Regions from separate parts of the Homo sapiens genome. Here region 2 is linked to region 1. The links are contacts of gene promoters, found by promoter capture Hi-C in blood cells and fetal thymus (Javierre and others, 2016). All regions are on one chromosome and are shown on one strand. Each heading gives the region's core, a stretch centred on a gene start or on the middle of the fragment in contact. The rest is flanking DNA. Distances are from core to core; before and after follow the strand shown.

Region 1 (6,057 bases), core at 1,421-3,920:
TGACAAAGGGCTAATATCCAGAATCTACAATGAACTCAAACAAATTTACAAGAAAAAAACAAACAACCCCATCAAAAAGTGGGCAAAGGATATGAACAGACACTTCTCAAAAGAAGACATTTATGCAGCCAAAAAACACATGAAAAAATACTCACCATCACTGGCCATCAGAGAAATGCAAATCAAAACCACAATGAGATACCATCTCACACCAGTTAAAACGGCAATCATTAAAAAGTCAGGAAACAACAGGTGCTGGAGAGGATGTGGAGAAATAGGAACACTTTCACACTGTTGGTGGGACTGTAAACTAGTTCAACCCTTGTGGAAGTCAGTGTGGCCATTCCTCAGGGATCTAGAACTAGAAATACCATCTGACCTAGCCATCCCATTACTGGGTATATACCCAAAGGACTATAAATCATGCTGCTATAAAGACACATGCACACGTATGTTTACTGCGGCACTATTCACAATAGCAAAGACTTGGAACCAACCCAAATGTCCAACAATGATAGACTGGATTAAGAAAATGTGGCACGTGTACACCATGGAATACTACGCAGCCATAAAAAATGATGAGTTCATGTCCTTTGTAGGGACATGGATGAAATTGGAAATCATCATTCTCAGTAAACTATCGCAAGAACAAAAAACCAAACACCACGTATTCTCACTCATAGGTGGGAATTGAACAATGAGAACACATGGACACAGGAAGGGGAACATCACGCTCTGGGGACTGTTGTGGGGTGGGGGGAGGGGGGAGGGATAGCTTTAGGAGATATACCTAATGCTAAATGAGGAGTTAATGGGTGCAGCACACCAACATGGCACATGTATACATATGTAACTAACCTGCACATTGTGCACACGTACCCTGAAACTTAAAGTATAATAATAATAAAATAAAAAAATGAAGCAAATCAGAAGGGAAAAAAATAAATAAATATATAAAAATAAAAATGGTGTTCGCTCCCAGGGACAAAAAAAAAAGGTAGAATTAGAACAACTCCCAGATTTTGGAAATTAGACAGTAGATAAACAAGCAGTATCTGCACTGGCATTCTTACAACATCTGACCCTATGATAGAACTGGGAAAACCAAGAACACACCTGATTTACACACAGTCTCCAACATTCTCACAATTTCACGACAGCAGATATTTCTGGAAGAAGTGAGGATGGGGCAGAACAAATGGAATGCTTAAAAGTCTGTTTAAGAATTAATTAGAGGCCAGGCATGGTGGTTCATGCCTGTAATCCCAACACTTTTGGGAGGCTGAGGCAGGAGGGTTTCTTGAGACCAGGAGTTCAAGACCAGCCTGGGTAACATAGTGAGACCCCCTATCCCTACAAAAAATTAAAAAATTAGCCAGGTGTGGTGGCATGTGCCTGTAGTGCCAGCTACTTGGGAGGCTGAGGTGGGACGATCTATTGAGTCCTGGAGGTTGAGGCTGCAGTGAGCTGTGATTGCACCACTGCACTCATGCCTGGGTGACAGAGTAGGACCCTGTCTTTAAAAAAAAAAAAAAGAGAGAGAGAGAAAAAGAAAAAAAAGAAAGAATTCTGTATCCTGACTTAGGTTTTTGTTACATAAATAGGTACATAGGATTCAACTGCATAGATCTACACACACACACAGACACACACACACACACACACACACACACACACGCATGTTAAATTGCTGAATAAGGTCTGTAGTTTCTTTAACATTATTGAACCTATGTCAGTTTCCTGATTTTGCTATTGTCCTACAGTTGTGGAAGATGTCTCTGTGTGAGGAAGCTGGGTGAAGTGTCCAAGGGAATCTACATATACTTTTGCCACTTCTTGTGATTCTAATAATTTTAAAATAAAAAGGTAAAAAATATAGATGCCTTCTCACAAGCACAAATTCCTACCTACCGGGAAATTCTGAAGTCATACTGTCTTAAAATGAGGGCACATGATTAGTGATTTTTCTTACAGATTTGATTTTAACCTGTTAAAGGCAAAGACATGTTGAGTTAGAGCAACCCAAGATAATTAAATTTTGATGAAATAAAGGATCATTCTATGTTACACAAAATTTTATTTAAAAAATCTGAAATCAATTAAAAGTATCCTTTTCTTTATTCTTTTTCTTTTCTTTTTGCCTATAAAGTATGCAAAACTAAAAATGGATTATTTAAAAGGACTCACAATATTAAAAATGAGCATAGCAATAAACTTTACTAAATTATACATACATACTTGTTAAAGCTAACACTGCCGATAATTATAATTAGCAAAAATTCTGACAATCTTTATGTTTACATCTTTATACATGACAGCAGAGGCTCTTTCTCCTATGCCCTGTGGATTGTATAATCCCTGATGAAAAGTTTACATCTACAACAACAAGTTAGGCTGTAAACACAGGCATATAATTTCTTCCCTGCAGAGTGTGTCATGGTAGGGGAGGTCCTGAGAGAGACTTACTGTTGGTATGTAATCAGGTCTAAGAATTATGAGCCTTGAGCAAATGCCATGTCTCTATGACGGTGGACATGGTGGGTCTGGTGTGAAGTCTGATTTTCTAACAAACCCTCTTGGCAAATTTATAAATAGTTTGATCTACACCTCAGAATGATTCCCAGAACATTCAGATTCTGAGATCTATGCTCAATGCTTTTGCCAGGTAAGGGAGAAGAAGATTCTTTGACTACATGTGGTCAACGTAGATACCTTCACCACCAGTTCTACCTCCAGGGCAGTGGAGGTGAAACACATATCAATGGTCAGCACTGAGTTCTCTGAGTGGAAGGAAGGTGAGTTAATCAAGTTTCTATTTCTCTCTCCTGGATGTTGCTGAAAAATGGGGAAAAGTATTTATTCAATAGCAAGAAACTTAGTGGTATGGAGCTCTGACTCTCGGGCTTGCATTTTTCTCACACTGTTCTCTCTGTTGGCTTCATTCTCAGCCTGGTATCAGGATAGCAATAGCAGTTCCAAGTGACACATCCAGAACAGAGGAATGCCAGGAAAGGAGATTTGTCTCTTTATTAAAAATATATTGACATGTGCTATACATATAGAAGAGTTTAAGGGTCATAAAAATACCAGTTTGGTAAAATTTTACAAACTTAACAACTAATATAACTGTACCCAAATTAATTATGTTTCCCTTATGCCTTCCTACAAAGACCTGTGAAAGCACATTCAGCTTCCTTTCTTCATCCTCTGTCTAGCTAGGATGGAATAGAGGAGAATGTGTAGAAACACTTATGTGATTTGTATGTGGTGAATCATAAGGCCTCGACTACTAAGGGTCTTCTTTTATCACCCGGTGACTTCATGGATTCTTATAGTAAGGTATCTAGAAACCCTATAGGAGACCCCTGTCTAGGAAACAGAATATCAGTATGGTCTCCGCCCTAAAGGAATCCTCCCTTACCTGGTGGTCATCACAGGGAAATTGAAGTGTCTAGTAGAATAATGGAAACATAAGTAGAAACTAGGAAGTGAAGGGACAGATGGAAGTGAGGGAGATGAGACACATCCATATAACCCAAGCTCAACAGCAGGTAGGCCTGTGCCTCAGCTACTCCACCTCTGTGTCTTCTAGTAAGGACAGGAGCAATTGTTTGTCACATTCAGTCTGTACAGACAAAAGACACTGACTGAAATGTTGAGGAGTGGGAGTGGCAGTACATTCAGTACATTCAGATCCCATGAAACAAAGAACTCACCCAAATTCCTACAGCCTGAGTCCCCTCCTCATTAATGAGATTTTGTAAAAAGAAATCTGTGTTCCTAATAGAATTTTCTTTTGTCTTCCCAGATTTTTGAAGACAAAAAATGCTGGCTAGAAACAACTCCTTAGTGACTGAATTTATTCTTGCTGGATTAACAGATCATCCAGAGTTCCGGCAACCCCTCTTTTTCCTGTTTCTAGTGATCTACATTGTCACCATGGTAGGCAACCTTGGCTTGATCACTCTTTTCGGTCTAAATTCTCACCTCCACACACCAATGTACTATTTCCTCTTCAATCTCTCCTTCATTGATCTCTGTTACTCCTCTGTTTTCACTCCCAAAATGCTAATGAACTTTGTGTCAAAAAAGAATATTATCTCCAATGTTGGGTGCATGACTCGGCTGTTTTTCTTTCTCTTTTTCGTCATCTCTGAATGTTACATGTTGACTTCAATGGCATATGATCGCTATGTGGCCATCTGTAATCCATTGCTGTATAAGGTCACCATGTCCCATCAGGTCTGTTCTATGCTCACTTTTGCTGCTTACATAATGGGATTGGCTGGAGCCACGGCCCACACCGGGTGCATGCTTAGACTCACCTTCTGCAGTGCTAATATCATCAACCATTACTTGTGTGACATACTCCCCCTCCTCCAGCTTTCCTGCACCAGCACCTATGTCAACGAGGTGGTTGTTCTCATTGTTGTGGGTACTAATATCACGGTACCCAGTTGTACCATCCTCATTTCTTATGTTTTCATTGTCACTAGCATTCTTCATATCAAATCCACTCAAGGAAGATCAAAAGCCTTCAGTACTTGTAGCTCTCATGTCATTGCTCTGTCTCTGTTTTTTGGGTCAGCGGCATTCATGTATATTAAATATTCTTCTGGATCTATGGAGCAGGGAAAAGTTTCTTCTGTTTTCTACACTAATGTGGTGCCCATGCTCAATCCCCTCATCTACAGTTTGAGGAACAAGGATGTCAAAGTTGCACTGAGGAAAGCTCTGATTAAAATTCAGAGGAGAAATATATTCTAATTAGAAGCAGTAATGATGTAAAACAATTGAAGGACTTCAAATTTTTATTAGTGTTTTTCATGAAGAGATTTTGTTGTTTCTACAGATGGTGTTATGTGTGATTTAATAAACTTGTCTTATCATTTCTCTTATGAGATCATCTTGTGTCTTCTTTTTTGTTTTTGCATCTCTGGCACTTCTCGCAATATTACTAAAGAGGTCATGGCATATTTGTAAAGGGAACATATGCACTGATATTTTTCTTCATCATTTTCTACCTTTCCTCTCTCCTGGGCTATTCTTAATTGGAAAAATGTGGTAAATTTCATGAATTATAAAAATGTCAAAGTCACAGCTTTCTCACCTAAACACAGAAGTGCCAAATATGATAGAAGCATTCTTATTTTTATCAACATTGTTACAGATATAGGCAGCTGGATTTGATGAAATATATCCACTACAAATGGTAGGTAATTTAAAGCAGAATCAGTTCCCCTTGATCTTGTCCTTTTGTTCTATGTTGTCACCATTTTGCCTTTTATTATTCTGACTTTTCTTGTTCCCTTTGAGAATGGCAAAATTTGTACCACATGCCGTTTGCTTTTGAGAACCTCTATCATTCCAGTCCATTTGATACAGCAGAGAATATGTGTATCTCCACCTTTTATTGCCAAAGGCAGCATTAACAGAGGATGATTAGAGAAATAATACATGTGCACCTCAGGATTCCAATAAGGGGGAATATAGTTTACATTATAAAACTTCATTTATTACTGTCTAAAACAGCACTGAAAATTTTGAAAAAAAGCATGTAGTTCCTACTGTAAATGTTATTTTTTACTCATTATAGGTAAATACTGCACATTGTTAGTAGAAATATTTTATACAACATTTTCCTTATCCAGTGTGGTTTATCATAAGGAATGTATATTAATATTAATAAACTATATTTCTACAAATATTTTGTGAGCCTACTTAAACTTTATCTCACCAATAAGACATGAAACACATTTTATATAAAGGTTGTCACCCAGATAGGAGTGCAGTGATTCGATCATAGCTTACTGCAGCCTCCAACTCCCGGGCTCAAGTAATTCTTCCACTTCAGCCTATAGTTTAAGTTTTTTGTGTGTGTATGGTTTTGGTCCATTTTTAGATTAACTTTTGTGTACAGCATGAGGTAGAGGACTTCTTCAGCATCCTGTGTAGCTGGGAGTACATGCACACACCATCATGCCTCCCTAATTTTTAAATATTTGGAGAAAAAAATTTAACTCCTGGCCTCAAACAATCTTCCTGCTTCATCCTCCC
Region 2 (6,057 bases), core at 2,005-4,504, 440 kb after region 1:
GGGAGATAGGACGATTTTGATGATTCCATCAAATTTAGGATAACAAGCAAAATGTAGTAATGCCATAAGGGAATACTTACTGGGGACTGATAAAATAAGTATGTATTTATGTGTGCTTCTAGATCTATAACCAGTTAGTGGCTAGAAATAAAGTGTATGGGGCTGGGTGCAGTGGCTCACGCCTGTAATCTCAGCACTTTGGGAGGCTGAGGCAGGCAGATCATGAGGTCAGGAGATCGAGACCATCCTGGACAACATGGTGACCTGTCTCTACTAAAAATACGAAAATTAGCTGGGCGTGGTGGCACCTGCCTGTAATCCCAGCTACTTGGGAGGCTGAGGAAGGAGAATCACTTGAACCTGGGAGGTGGAGGTTGCAGTGAGCCGAGATTGCGCCACTGCACTCCAGCCTGGTTAGAGAGGAGAGGAGACTCCGGGAAAAAAAAAAAACAAAAGAAAAAAGAAATAAAGCGTATGATTAATACTTCATCTTTGTTGCCAAGTAAAATGCTTCCATTTCTATGTGATATAAATGCAGCACATCCTGAAATAGAACTTGAAGGACAAGAAGAAACAAGTTTCAACAACTTATTCAAGGGGGTGGGGTGTGTCCATCTTCTGGGAATAGGGAGTGGTGATTGGGACGATAACCTCTACTGTCCACTGCTCTGGAGGAGGAGCTGAAAGACTTTTGGATGAAACTCAACCTAACACATATCCTGGGGGATGTTTTCATTTTTTCAGGATCAAATCTTTAAACTATAACAATTTATTTCTATATGTAGAATTCCTATCATTAGTTGACAGATGAAGTAAGATGACAAGTGGAAATTGATATCAAATCAAATTTATAATGACAAACTCTCATATATAAGATATTGTGGTTTAGCAGCTAATAATTCAGGCTCTGAATTCAGACTGCCAAAATTTTATTCACTAACTCTACTACTCACTAATGTGGGTCCTTAATCCCTCGAACCCTAAACCTTGCCTGTATGATGGAGAGAATAATAACGTATAGTTGCTGAGATATTTCACAATGAAATAAATACAAAGTCTCTGGCATATAGTAACTATTCAGTAAGTTCTAGCTGTTATCATTAGAAGCATCATTATATTATGGCATTCTAAATCCACATCCTTTTTTTCCCTTGATAGGTTCAAATTTCATGGTCTTATCCACTAGTGCCATAGACACACACCAGAGTCAGATAAGTTTAGATGTGTATCTTAGCTTTGTGTTTGAGGGTGGGTATTTTTTTCCCACACTGTTCTAGTTTGCTCAATTATAAAGTGGACAATAATAATAGTTATCTAATTGTGTAAATTAGATCATTATGTCAATGAAAAATGTGTGCATGTGAGTCCCTCAAAGTTCTAATTCCCTTCACTGATTCTCATCTTGTTAACCAGTATTTTTAGTGCAAAATACATAGGAACAAAAAAACATTTCCAACTATAGTACAAACAACTTCTAACTGTGTGACATTAAGCAAATGATTTAAAGCATTAAGATTATTTTGAGGTTGAAAATGACAAAATTGTAAACATGCGTATACAGGGATGATAGTGTTATGGTCTGGCATTTTGAGAGACAGCCAGCCAACTGATGAGGCTCTCCAGAACTGATAAGCAGTTATTCAGGTTGACAAAGAGAGGCTAGAGAACAGACTTTAGTGCATGTATTTTATCACAGTAGCCAGAAACTGATTTTGTGTGTTTGACGGACTTTATAAGTTACTTTTAATAATATTTAACCAAAGCTTTGGAAATAGCCACAGTAGCATGTTTTCCTTATCTGAAATGATTATGTTATCCTGAAACAGTGCTCTGGCCTCCTTTGCTGGGTTTTATTATGGTATTTCTTTGATTTTGGAGACACAAGCCCTAGACTAGCAGAATGAAGCATTATTATTACTTAGCTACTTAAATCCCAGACTTATTCTTTCCAAAATTGATGTAAACAGAACAGAAATATCCTTCAAACCTGGATTTCTTGCCTCAGTTCAATACTATCTGTTAAAGTAGCTTCAGACAGAATTGAGAAAATATCTGTGCTCCTCGTCTTTAACACTGTTGGTCTGAAGTAATAGATATTCCTCAGTTAAACTGTCTAAACTCTCAACACTTCATTCCTTGTCAATTAAACAATGTAACTTGATGCTCATTTTCATTCTTTTTGTCTTAGAACATTTTCCATTTTCCCTGATTAGGCCAAATCTATGTGATTCTGAGTATTTGGTGCTAGATGTTTAAAAAAAAAAAAAAGAACCCAAGATATCTAATTGTCTAATGAAATCCAGTCCTTCAAAACATGTGGATACATTTTACAGGATTCCAAAAGCTCCAAGGACAAGATGAACATATCTCCAAATTAAGGCAAAAGTTGAGAAGGCAAGTTGATATATACCATCTCCTTTGAGACCATTCTCCCTTATTCCTCATTTTATACTATTAGAATATTGAGCAAGCTGAAGGTAAGAGAAGCTAGTAAGCATTCCACAAGGAAGAAGGATTTCTAGCATTCTACAGGAGTCTGGATTGGGGGAAAAAAGAAAAATAACACTTTATGACAGGACTGGGCTTTGCACAATCCGGTCCTATTTGGCTTCATGGCTGACTAATGAAAATTAAATCTCTGAGTATACCGAGAGCCCAGATTTTTAAATTCTGTTATTTTATGTCAAGCCAGGACACAGAAGGACCATAAACACTAAAATGAGAGTTCTTAATACCAGTAAAATTTGTTCATGGTGCATTTGTTCTGTGAAGTCTTCTCTGACCCCTCTACTCCTCTGGACTCGTCTAAAGCCACACTACTCACACGGTTCTCTGCCTGAGCTCAACAGTATCAGCAGCATGTGCTGGAGTCACAGAAGCTCAGTATGAAATCCTGCCTCTACCACCTGTTTCCTACCTGATCATAGAAGAGTCACTTAAACTCCCTTCGTCATCCTTTTCTTATCTTTGAAAATAGTAAAACATAGTTTTAAGAGTAGCTAGGAGAAGAGATACTGTGCACCGTGTAAATTTTCAGATATATAATTGATGTTCAATATTGCCATGCTGCTTACTATTGTAATTTGTTTCTCTCTTTGTAAGTCACGTGCAGACCAAACTATAGATCAACATATTCTCAGAATGTAAGGAAGTGTTGGGTGTTCAATATTATTTTACCGATTGGTTAAATGATGATTGGTAGCTATAGACCAGTTACAGAGTTCTGTTTCATTTCCCCTGCAGGTGACTGAAGATGAACCCTGAAAACTGGACTCAGGTAACAAGCTTTGTCCTTCTGGGTTTCCCCAGTAGCCACCTCATACAGTTCCTGGTGTTCCTGGGGTTAATGGTGACCTACATTGTAACAGCCACAGGCAAGCTGCTAATTATTGTGCTCAGCTGGATAGACCAACGCCTGCACATACAGATGTACTTCTTCCTGCGGAATTTCTCCTTCCTGGAGCTGTTGCTGGTAACTGTTGTGGTTCCCAAGATGCTTGTCGTCATCCTCACGGGGGATCACACCATCTCATTTGTCAGCTGCATCATCCAGTCCTACCTCTACTTCTTTCTAGGCACCACTGACTTCTTCCTCTTGGCCGTCATGTCTCTGGATCGTTACCTGGCAATCTGCCGACCACTCCGCTATGAGACCCTGATGAATGGCCATGTCTGTTCCCAACTAGTGCTGGCCTCCTGGCTAGCTGGATTCCTCTGGGTCCTTTGCCCCACTGTCCTCATGGCCAGCCTGCCTTTCTGTGGCCCCAATGGTATTGACCACTTCTTTCGTGACAGTTGGCCCTTGCTCAGGCTTTCTTGTGGGGACACCCACCTGCTGAAACTGGTGGCTTTCATGCTCTCTACGTTGGTGTTACTGGGCTCACTGGCTCTGACCTCAGTTTCCTATGCCTGCATTCTTGCCACTGTTCTCAGGGCCCCTACAGCTGCTGAGCGAAGGAAAGCGTTTTCCACTTGCGCCTCGCATCTTACAGTGGTGGTCATCATCTATGGCAGTTCCATCTTTCTCTACATTCGTATGTCAGAGGCTCAGTCCAAACTGCTCAACAAAGGTGCCTCCGTCCTGAGCTGCATCATCACACCCCTCTTGAACCCATTCATCTTCACTCTCCGCAATGACAAGGTGCAGCAAGCACTGAGAGAAGCCTTGGGGTGGCCCAGGCTCACTGCTGTGATGAAACTGAGGGTCACAAGTCAAAGGAAATGATCTTATTAAATGGGAGATTAAATGTTTATTGAAAATTTTTTAAATGTGCAAGAAGTTTAAGGGATGTAGGCAACACTGTTCACTTTTCTCAGCTAATGAAAGAACAGTCTTCATAAATATACAACATGAAATACGGTGGTAAACCTTCATTTTCCCTCCCTACAACCTTCCTTGTGCCTCCTCCTCCCCACAGAGAAGGCTGATCCAATTGGTCAAATTTCTTTCAAGATGGAATCCTTGGATTGGAGAGCATGTGTGAGCACGTGACCCGCATACAGGGAGGCTCCTCCTTCTCTTCGTGTGTGCTTAAACACTTTTCTTACTGCCTCAGTCTCCTGTGTCATGTAGCCAATCAGAAGATGCTGAAATATGGAGATTCAGATTTGGAGCTCAGTGGGGAGTAAGAGGGTCTCTGAGGTCTTCCAACTAGACTGGGTACTGCAAATAAAATTAACCAGAACCTCTGTATTATTAGAAAATCAAATTCTGGCTGCAGTAATAAATGGTTCTCTGATTTGCATTTGTTATTGCTCCTTATGTAACTAGCAGCTCCTATAGGAATCTCATAAAGGAAGAATGTTAAGACCAGTGAAATATTTGGATAGCCCTAATTCCTAAGTCAAACTCTACTAACAAACTCAAATATGGCAACAAACTGAAATATGGCAACACTCATTTAATCATTCCTTTAAGAAATATTATTAAATCTCTAATATGGCAAGGCTCCAACTAGGGTGAGCCAAGGAAGATGTCTACAGAACAAATTTTAAAGAGACATGCACTTTTAGGGGAGTGTTAGCGCAGGGTCAGGCTGTGTACAAACTCGATAGTAAATGTCTGCTCATTGTTGACATGAGGCCCCTCTGTTGCTGCACCCTCATCTAGGCTGTGGTGCTAGGCTTGGAGAATACAGTATTAAGTAAGCTAAACACGGCCCTTTCTTTTATAGAATTTATAGTATAGTGGGCGATGGCTGACAAAAAATATTAATAAATAAATACATAAATCAGTGTGTAATTGAAATCTGTGATAAATACTTTTGAGTTTTGTTAGAGAAACTAATAAGGACAAATTAATTCGGATTAAAGATCAGTGAACACATCTTTGAGGAAGTGACCTTTAGACCGAGGATTGAGATTGAGCAACAGTTTGCCAGGCAAGGATGAAGAGAAGAGCATCCCAGAGATAGCAAAGAGTATTTGCAAACTCAAGAAGTAAAGAGAAACTGACAGAAGTAAATGCAAACAGAGGGTTAGAAAAGAGTGGAGTTAGAGAAGTGAGATTGGAGAGATGGGTGGAGGCCAGGTCAGACAACATCTTATCTATAATAGTCATGTGGATTTTTTTTTTAAAGGCAATGGAAAGCCTCTGAGTGATTGTAAGGGAGAGAATGATCAAGTCATATTTTAAAAGATGGATCAAATGCCAAGTCTATCTATGATGTCAGTATAACTCACGATGATATAAACTCTATCTGTGATGACATAAACCCACAGATCCTTAGAATCTATAAGACGTTTTAGGTACTGTTGAGCACTTGGGCTCTGATGTTGTATAGACTTGGGTTGAATTCCAGAAAACAAGCTCTGTAGCCTTAAGTAAGTTATTTAATGTCTCTAATTTGTAATGGACTCATGTTTAAAGTAAAGATGATACCTACCTCCTAAGAATTTTGAGAAAATTAAAATAATAAATGTAAATCACCTGGTACAGTGTCTGGAACATAGTAAGTTCTAACTAAATGTTATTAATATGATGATGATGATGACACTGATGGCAACAACAGTGACCCTAGGAAACTATGAGGAAGAAAGTGATTTGCCCAAGGTAAT

What was found. Contacts are between HindIII fragments. The CHiCAGO score rates a contact against its expected background, and 5 or more counts as called.
Region 2: the fragment with the promoter of OR6T1 here is called in contact with the fragment with the promoter of OR8B2 in region 1 in 1 of 17 cell types (erythroblasts); the score reaches 6.4 in erythroblasts.

What each region holds. Positions count from the first base shown.
Region 1 is chr11:124,381,112-124,387,168 of GRCh38, reverse strand. OR8B2 (olfactory receptor family 8 subfamily B member 2) reads left to right here and starts at 2,670. Exons shown (of 2, transcript NM_001005468.2): 1 at 2,670-2,795; 2 at 3,809-4,775. The coding sequence starts at 3,826. The coding sequence ends at 4,767. The HindIII fragment of the contact is 13,920 bases long and covers 1-6,057 here.
Region 2 is chr11:123,941,035-123,947,091 of GRCh38, reverse strand. It overlaps OR6T1 (olfactory receptor family 6 subfamily T member 1), which reads left to right and starts at 3,254. Exons shown (of 1, transcript NM_001005187.1): 1 at 3,254-4,225. The coding sequence starts at 3,254. The coding sequence ends at 4,225. The HindIII fragment of the contact is 1,522 bases long and covers 1,766-3,287 here.